2 separate regions of the Homo sapiens genome follow, and region 2 is linked to region 1. Evidence: promoter capture Hi-C in 16 types of primary human blood cells and fetal thymus (Javierre and others, 2016). All regions are on one chromosome and are shown on one strand. The core of a region is centred on a gene start or on the middle of the fragment in contact, and the rest is flanking DNA. Distances in the headings are between cores, read along the strand shown. Region 1 holds the start of LRRC52-AS1 (LRRC52 antisense RNA 1). Region 2 overlaps RXRG (retinoid X receptor gamma).

Region 1 (4,818 bases), core at 1,117-3,616:
CTGTCTTCACTTCTCAGACTGGCCTCTTCCTGGTTGGCTGCAATTTTGTCTATGTTGGCAAGATATTTGCCAGCACAGAGCTGGCAAATATGTGCCTAAAGAGCTATGAGTAACTGGAGGGGCTCAAATAATTTGGAACTAGTATGAGAAGTCTAATGACCTTGCTATACTTTGGTTTCCTCATCTGTAAAATAAGATAATAACACTACGTCCATAGAGTACTAAGTGAATATTTAATGAGCTAGTGGAAGATGTATACCTCCACAGTTAACATGAGCTTTGGAGTCACACCTGGTTCCATCACTTACTCAGTTACTTGTGTATGAGGATACTTATAACACTTGGTCATAAGTTGTTTGAGATATAAGTTTCTAGAGTGTCTATAAAACCTCTAATAGGGTATCTGGCACAGAGTCACTCAGTAAATGGTAGCTATTAATTGAGTAGAATTTTGAGAAATTACCATCAATGGCTTGAATGTAAAGCTAAACTCAGGCACGGGGAAGGGCATGGGCAGTGATCCATAAAGGAGACACTTTGGGCTTGGGGCAGCGAGGTAAGCTTGGGTAGCACCCACGGGTAGAAATGGGACTCTTACTCTTTGTGTTAGAATTATGGTAAAAACACACACACCAAGAGACGGTCTGGGGAAGAGCCTGCCAGCCTAACAAGAAGTTAGCACCTTTGGAGGAGAGCTCTGGTTCCATCAGAGAGGCTGTGTTTTTGGAAGGATCCTTTTTGTAGAATTTCAGTACTTAGCTTAGTGTTCATTGCACTGACTTGAATTGCCTCTGAAGTCAGAGGGAGTCTTCTTAATATTCTTCATGGCGGCAAATCTTCCGCTTATGAGGTGGATTCTACAATTCAGAGCCACATCTAATGAATTAGGTAGGGGATAAAGCCAAGTAATTCTGATTCAGATTAAAAGAGAAGACCAAACTAGTGTGATTATTTTTTTTCCCCCTCTGGCTTAAGCTGGCTTTTGAAAACAACAGTATGAGTAAGTTATATAACACTTTAAAAATCAGTGTCATAATTTTATATTTTACAGGTGGAATGTATATATATATTACAGGTGGAATATATATATACACACATATATGTATATTTTACAGTTGGAATATATACACATATATGTATATATACACATATACATATATGTATGTATGTATGTGTATATATGTATGTATGTGTATATATGTATGTATGTGTGTATATGTATACGTATATACATATATGTGTGTATATGTATACGTATATACATATATGTGTGTATATGTATACGTATATACAATGTATGTATATATGTATACATATACATACATATATACATGCATGTATGTATATGTGTATATATACATACATATACACATACATACACATATATGTGTATATGTATACACATACATACACATATATGTGTATATGTATACACATACATACACATATATGTGTATATGTATACACATACATACACATATATGTGTATATGTATACACATACATACACATATATGTGTATATGTATACACATACATACACATATATGTGTATATGTATACACATACATACACATATATGTGTATATGTATACACATACATACACATATATGTGTATATGTATACACATATACATATGTGTATACGTATACACGTATATATGTATACACACATACATACGTATAGATGTATACACACACATACATACGTATAGATGTATACACACATACATACGTATATATGTATACACACACATACGTATATATGTATACACACATACATACGTATATATGTATACACACACATATACGTATATATGTATATAGACACATATACGTATATATGTATATATACACACATATATACGTATATATGTATATATACACACATATATACGTATATATGTATATATACACACATATATACATATATATAATGTATATACACACACATATATACATATATAATATGTATATATACACACACATATATGTATGTATATTTTACAGGCTTAATTAACTTTCTTTTTCTTGTATAAAAACCCTATGTTGTAGCTACAGCTGGAGCCTGGGTCCTCTGCACGGAGACTCTGGTGTGGGTCTTGGCGAGGTGGTCAGTGAATTCTTGATAGGGACACTTGGTGAATACAGCCGTCCTCCAGAGGTCAGGGGTCAGGTAGCTGTAGGTCTTAGAGATGGCATCAAAGGTGGCCTTGGCGAAGTTGCTCAGAGTGGCAGTGCAGCCCCTGGCTGAGGTGTAGCAGTCATCGATACCAGCCATCATGAGCAACTTCTTGGGCACAGGCGCCGAGACGATACCGGTGCCTCTGGGCACGCGGATGAGGCGCACGAGCACGGAGCCGCAGCAGCCCGTCACCTTGCAACGGATGGTGTAGGGCTTGCCGATCTTGTTCCCCTAGTAACCTCTGCGCATGGGGACAATGGAGAGCTAGGCCAGGATGATGGCCCTGTGGATGGCAGTGGCCACCTCCTTGGAGCACTTAACACCCAGACCGACGTGACCGTTGTAGCCCGCAATGGCCACAAACGCCTTGAACCTGGTTCGCTGGCCGGCTCCGGTCTGCTTCTGCACCGGCATAATCTTCAAAACCTAGGCCTCGAGAGAGGCCCCCCAGGAAAAAATCAATGATCTCAGATTCCGTGATGGGCAGGGAGAAGAGACAGATCTCCTCCAGGGAAGTGATCTTCATGTGCTTGACCAGGCAGCCCAGCTTGCTGACGGGCATCCACTCCTTATCCTTGGCCTTGCCTCCGCGAGCTCCGTGGCTTCGGCCCCAGCCTGGTCCACGGCAGTGACCCCGGCCTCGGATGCCACTGCCGAAACCTCCACGGAAGCCACCATGGTTCCCCATCCCAGGGCCCCGGGGCCTCCGGGACTCCCCCCGCAACCCAATGCCGGCTGCGCCGGCGTCATCCGCCATTTGGTGTTTTCTCGGAGAAGAAGCTACATGTGGAATATATTAACGCAACAAATTGTGCGTACTTGCTAGACATTAGGCATGATAGCAAGTGCTAGGGTTACAAAGTATTGCTTTTTGGGGAACCCATGGTTGTTGGGGAGAAACCAGAAGATCAGTCATCACAGTGCGGCAAGATCAGACTTGTGGTTTGTTCAGGTTCTGGGAGCCGTCACTGCAGTGAGAATGGGTGAGTTGGGGCAGGCTGTGGTGTCTGGGAAATTTTAAAATAGAAGTGATACTTGAGCAAGAAGTTGAAGGATGAATATGGATTTATAGAATAAGCAGGGTGTAGAGACATGTGTGCATGTGTGTGTGTATTTCATAAAGAAAGACATGCATGTGCAAAGGCCTGGAGGCTGTTGATGTCAGCAGAATGTTCTGAGGAATGAGTAAGATGAAACAGATGAAACACTTAAAGGCATTTTTTCTCCATTAGTCAAGTCTAGGAGAGGCATTCAATGTCTAATGTCTAACTAGGGTTAGGATTTGAAGAATCTTTCTAAGATGTCTGGTCTTTTTTTTTTTTTCTTTTAGAGATGGGGTTTCACTGTGTTGCCTAAGCAGTGGCTATTCATAGGCACAGTTACAGCACACTGCAGTCTTGAACTCCTGGACTCAAACTATCCTCCTGCCTTGGCCTCCAAAGTAGCTAGGGCTACAGGCACATGTGACTGTGCCTGAGTAAGACGTCCCCTCTCAAAAGTCAGCAAATAAAAGGCAGCTTAGAGAAAGCCATGGTTCCTACCTGATCACCCTCCCAACCATCCTATGAGGATTTTACAGATGAGGACCCTGACGTTCAGTGGGTTTAAGTAATTTCCCTAAAGTCTCTGCTAGGAAGAAGGAGAACTGGGCTTTCCATTGGAGTCTGCCTCACTCCAAAGCCCACGACAAATTGTGAACATAAGTTCCTCTTTATCTGATGACTTGGGACTTTGTCTCACCTTAGGACCAGTCTTCTGTATGTGAGATTATTAGGTAGTTTGGTAGCTGGAGATGTAGCAGCAGATGCAGAGGTCTGAGCACATGGACTGGCCTTAGGCAGTGTCCAGACTAGTGGGCCTCTGACTTCAGAGTGCCTAAGCATCCTCTGAGGGACTGCTCACAGTTCAGATTCCCAAACCCTGCTTCAGAGGGTCTGTCTTGTTATGACGCACCTAGGGTGACTCTGATGCAGATGGTACATGGTTCACACTTAACATCGCTCTTAATGAATTTCTTATATGAATTTGGTTGTCTCTCCCTCCCTCCCTCCCTTTCTTCTCTCCTGCCTTCCATTCTCTCCCTCCTTCCCTTCCTCCTTTCCTCTCTTTCTCCCTTCCTTCTTTTTGCCTTTATTTCTTTCTTGGTGTTTTGCTTATTCTCAGATTGCAGGATTGGGAAAAGCCAAAATAATCAAGGCTTCTGTCAGTTGGTTCCAATGACTTGAGGAAATCACTCAAACTACTATTCATTCTCTCTTTCTGTGTGTGTGTTCCCTGTCTCTCCAACAAGAGTATGCATTCCTTGCAGGCAGAATTCACGTATTTTGTGTGCCTTTCACAGATGCTTCCATGGTCATGCTCCCGGGTACACTGGGTGCCTAGTACCTTTTGACTACTTTTCAACTAGGCATTTTGAAAAATGTAATTCATCCAAGGCAGGCAGGCTTAGCTGCTTGCCTCAACATTCTGTGCTGTCCTGTGGACTTCCTGTGAATGTCCTCCACACAGCCTCTGTCTTTTCTAGCTCTTCTGCCCTTCACACCATCCTGGAGAGTCCTTGATGGGTGGAACATAGACTCAGGCCTAGTGACTCTTTTCCAGTCTCAGCTCTCAGCGTTTTCACAGCCTCTGGTGA
Region 2 (5,117 bases), core at 1,004-3,503, 140 kb after region 1:
TGATATTTAGCGTAATTAGATTTCAGATAGAAGTAAACACAATGGTTCAGCTATGGAAGGAAATAGTTCAGTATAGTATAGGGAACTTGAGGGGAAAGGGTCATGTAGGTTGTCTACATGTCTCCTGTAAAGCTACTTTTCTTTGTCATTCTTGAGGGAGGAGAAGAATTATTTTGTTTAGTTCTGTTGAGGTTTTCCATTTTGTTGGCATGTGCCAGTTAAGAGGAGGCCTAAATGCTGAGCCAAAGGACTCTGCCCCCGTCTGCAGGGAGGTCTGTTTGAGAACTTTCTGTGATGAGGGAGAGGGACAGAGGACTCACAAGCAGGCACAGGGGAAAGCAGGATTAGAGTGGACGTCACCTTTGGCCTCTAACCTCCCCTGCCACAGTGCAGCAAGTTGCACGGCACTTATTAAAATACTTGGTGTATAACCCCCTGCCCTGTTACATATTAGCACATGGAATTACAGAGGGCCCCATGATTTGTATAAGAATCTCCAGGGAAGCAAAGTCACCTTTTGGAAATAACACCTGAGATTTGTGTCTGGGACCATGCTTACCAGATGTCAGAGCATCATCTGATCAGTGAGCAACAGATTGCTCAAACTGGCCAAAGTGTGGTGGCTACGTGGTGGCTCCACAAAGGTGCCCAATCTCCCAGCTTTGGGCCCTACCATGTAATGATGAGAGAAACCTTCTCTTCTCCTTCTCTGCCAAGTCCAGGGTTTGCCAGCTGCTCAGTAATAGGTTTGTTTTTCTGGGATGAGACAGTTGCTGCCTCTTAGAAGATGGCAAAACAAAGCCTGTAATCCCCCCCATCCAATTGTGCAGTAATCCTCAGGGTGAGAAGGAGATCAGGGAGAGAGAGGACTTCTCTCATTTCATTTAACAAACACACTGTAACACTAATGCTCGCTACTATTGTAAGCACTTTACCAGCCTCGGCTCATGTAATCCTCATAACAACCCTAGGAGTAGGTACTGTTACCATTGTTCTCGTACTCCTTTTAGAGACAAAGAAACAGAGGAATTGAGAGGTGAAATAACTTGCTTAAGGTCTTATAGCTAGAAAATGGCACAGCCAGGGATTGAACCCAGGCAGACTAGCTCCCAGAGTTCACACTGCTGAGCTGCCTCTCACAGCTTCTGTGAGTGACACAGTTGCTCTGCAAAGCCAGGGGCAGCAGCACACCCCCAGGGAGCTCCCGGTGCTCCAATACAACCTCAGATATGCAGCCTCAGCACTGACTGGTTGTTGCAGACCCAGTGGACTGGCCATTGAGGAATAAGCCATGGGATAGGTTAAGAGCAACGGTGATCTCTGCAGAATTAATTGGTGGCTTCCCTTGGGTACATACTTATTTGCAAGAGTCCTGTCCAACTGACCCTGACCATTCATGTAGAATAGTTGCTTTCACTTGAAAATAGCCATAGAGAAGGGGTTGAGTTGGACCTGCTTGTATGTGTGCGTGTGCACATGTGTGTATATGCTAGAACATATTTTTCCCCTCCACAGATATGTGGGTGGCTAATTGGAACCTATCATGGGCATAAGTGGTTAAGGTTTATGTGGAAAGGAGTAACTGTTTATGAGATTTAGGAAGGAACATATTTCGTATAAACTATTTTCTAAAACATTTACAATCTCACCAAGAGATAGAGAGCTGAATAGCAACTGGGGGAAGAAATTGTGCAAAGAGAATCTAAATGCCCCACCTCTTCCTTCCCCTCATTATGAAGCTTCTAGGTCTGCAGAGAACTTAGCCACCAGCATTGGATCGCGGGTGTGCCAGGGGCTCCCAGAGGAAGCTGGTGTTTTCTCCTCTTTTTAAAAGTAGAAGACACAGAGGCCCAGGGAATGAAGTTAATTTTCTAGAATGCATGGGCTTTGGTGGCTCTCATGAGATTGACTCAGCCCTGGCTCAGTGATCCTCAGAAAAAAGTGAAAATACAGGTTGAGTATCCCTAATCCAAGCATCTAAAATCTGAAATGCTTCAAAATCCAGAACTTTTTGAATGCCAAAATGATGCTCAAAGGAAATGCTCGTTGGAGCATTTTGGATTTCAGATTTCTGGATTATAGATGCTCAATTGGTAAGTATAATGCAAATATTCCAAAATAAAAAAAAATCCTAAATCCAAAACACTTCTGGTGCTAAGCATTTTGGATAAGAGATACTTAACCTGTATCAACTCGTTTCATAACTAAAACACCACTTTAAGGTCGGTAGTTTTATTACCCCCATTATACAGATGTAAAAACTGGGGGACAGAGAAATTAATAATTTGCCAAAGGGAACTTGGCTAATAAATGATAAAAGTGGCATTTGAATATGAGGAAAAGCAGCAGATCTGGATTTTAATCCCAGCTCTACCATGTACTATACTGTACTACTCTGTAAATTCTTACAGCAGTTACCCAGCACAGACCTTCCTGCCCCTTCCCAATTCAATACTTGGCCTCTCCCAGGATTTTGACCCTGGCCTTTCTCACTAGAACACTCCACATCTTGACTCTATCTCTTCACAATTCAACCCCTAGTTTGGGTTCCCTTCCTCAGGGCTCCCAGCCCAGCCTAATCTTCTTCTCCCTCCTCTTTCCACATAACAGCCACTCAGACACCAGGGATTAGCTAATATGCATTTCTTATATTTGAATTATTATCAGCATATTCAAGGGGACTTTCCTATAAACATTTAGGCTGCACAATCACCCTGAGATGGAATGGGAAGGTATTTTATAACTGTTTTACTGGTGCAAAGCTTTACATTTTAACCGATGTAGAAAACAAGATGTTAGACATTAAATTTCCAGTGAATGGGGAGCAGAGAGAAGCTTTCTTCTGATGGGAAGGAAACCTTCTCTGCTATGGAAGCCCTTTCTGGCTTCCTCAGTGGGGAAAAATCAAGGAATGTGTTGGAGAGTGGAGAGCATGTAGAAGAGGCCCTCCTTCTGCCCCCAGAGGCTCAGGCCTCTCAGCCTCTCAGTGGGAATGTGAGAATGAAAGCATGCATTAGCTGATGGGTTGACGCTGCTGCATGCTTCACGCAACCCCAGTTCGGACCAGCTGGCTAGCCTTTCGAAGCCGCACAGGGCAGTTCCACCTGGATTCATGTAGCCCCCAGAGAAGGGCTGATGAGCTGCTCAGGGTGGGAGCTGGGGTTGCTTCCGGTGCTTGAAGGAAGGGGGAGGGAGAGAGTGGCATCCCTGCCTCTCTCCCTCTCCTCCACCCCCCTCCTCCCCTCGCTCCCACTCCTCCCATCTTCCTCCACCCCCGCCCCCCTCCCCTAAAATCTGTAATGATGGAGGTAGTGAAAAGCAGGGAAAGATTGATAATCAGCCTCATTATTACCAGCATTATATATAATTATAGCAAAACCTCACTCATTTGGATCAATTGAGAGAAAAATCAGTCTAAATTCGTGACAAGTTGGCAGATTACTTTTAAATTACAATTTTATTACTTCTAAGTAACACATGTGAACAGTTTGTGTTTCAAGTACCACAAGCTAATGGTTACTCAGTGGGGATTTTAGAAAACCTGCTTTAAAAGATTCTTTTGTAATTAACACCCCGTTAATATGCCAATGTGCTCCTTCTATGCTTTTTAAATTGCTTGAAAACATATGTATCTTAAATAGGCTTAACATTTCTACCATCTTATTTGCTTAACAAACCTTTTTTATTATTATTTTGTGAATGAACAAATACAAACTAGTTTATACCATGACCAGTTTAGTCACCACTCTGAATTAATTATGTTGTAAATTAATAAGACCATGTTGGTTGTTTTTGTTTAGAAATCAGACTTTTAGAACTTGAAGAACCACCTCATTTTATAGAAGAGAGGTTGAGAGACTTGCCCAAGGCCATATAGGCAAAAACAGCAGGTCTTCTGGCCCCTGGGTCCAAGTTTATTCCGTCTGCTAGATAATGCCTTACATTCCTAAAACTCTTTATGAATATGTGCTATTTATTTCCATACCAATCATTGGGTTATCTGTCAAAAAATATTTGGTGAGTGTCTATTCTGTGCCAAGCCGTGTGCTTAATCCCCATATAATGGGGATAATAAAACTACGGACCTTAAAGTGGTGTTGTAGTTATGAAATGAGTTGATGCAAGTTAAGTATCCCTTATCCAAAATGCTTAACACCAGAAGTGTTTTGGATTTGGGATTTTTTTTTTATTTTGGAATATTTGCCTTATACTTACCAATTGAGCATCTATAATCCAAAAATCTGAAATCCAAAATGCTCCAATTAGCATTTCCTTTGAGCATGATATTGGCATTCAAAAAGTTCTGGATTTTGAAGCATTTCAGATTTTAGAGGCTTGGATTAGGGATACTCAACCTGTATTTTCACTTTTTTTCTGAGGATCGCTGAGCCAGGGCTGAGTCAATCTCAGCACAACAGATAGAGGGGCCCCTCCTGGAGGCCACCGTCTATTTCATTCAAACTTCAAACTGACAGTGTAGTCCGTAAGGCGGAAATTATTCCCATTAGACAGATTAGGAAACTGAGGTTTAGAGTGATAAAGTGGCCCTTTTAAGGCCTGCTGCAAATTATTATAGATCTAGAATTTGAGTCTAGTCTAGCAGAATTTCTGTGAACATTTCTGCATATAATGAATGACATTTTGCTTGCACACCACCTTTCCCAGCCAGCACCAAATTATAGACCTTGCTAGTACAGATGGATATTATGCCATCTCTAACAAATGAGAGGCTCCAGGGGATCCTGCTAACGAGGACCGGCTGGCTGTCCCTTTAAGCCAATTCCGTATACTGGTACATCATGTACCAGTTAGTCCATGGAGGCAGATGTCAATGAGTGTTTGAAGCAGATGCCAATGAGGGTGCCCCCAGTTCTCCTCTCGTTCCTAAAGTCCTTGAACATCAATTATGTGCACACCCAGCTCTTGAATCCATGACCTCTGTCCATTACTGTCTCTGGATTTCTTGTTCAGATAGGCTCTCTCTATCTGAACAGGGCAATCTCTATAGATTGTCTTCTAAAGACGGCAGTCTCTTAAAATACAGCGAACTATATTCCTAGTCCCATGTTACCATTGGGTAATATTCAGAACATTATCTGTTCTCAGGTTCTAAATCC

What was found. The method cuts DNA at HindIII sites, captures the fragments that hold promoters and counts their contacts. A CHiCAGO score of 5 or more calls a contact.
Region 2: a fragment that was not itself captured here is called in contact with the fragment with the promoter of LRRC52-AS1 in region 1 in 3 of 17 cell types (total CD8 T cells, total CD4 T cells and non-activated CD4 T cells); the score reaches 7.6 in total CD8 T cells.

Annotation. Positions count from the first base shown.
Region 1 is chr1:165,579,703-165,584,520 of GRCh38, reverse strand. LRRC52-AS1 (LRRC52 antisense RNA 1) reads left to right here and starts at 2,366. Exons shown (of 7, transcript NR_026744.2): 1 at 2,366-3,166. It also overlaps the pseudogene RPS2P10. The HindIII fragment of the contact is 5,029 bases long and covers 564-4,818 here.
Region 2 is chr1:165,437,427-165,442,543 of GRCh38, reverse strand. All of the region lies in intron 1 of RXRG (retinoid X receptor gamma), which reads left to right. Among named protein-coding and RNA genes, the nearest start is that of RXRG, 5.1 kb to the left of the region's middle. The HindIII fragment of the contact is 1,023 bases long and covers 1,742-2,764 here.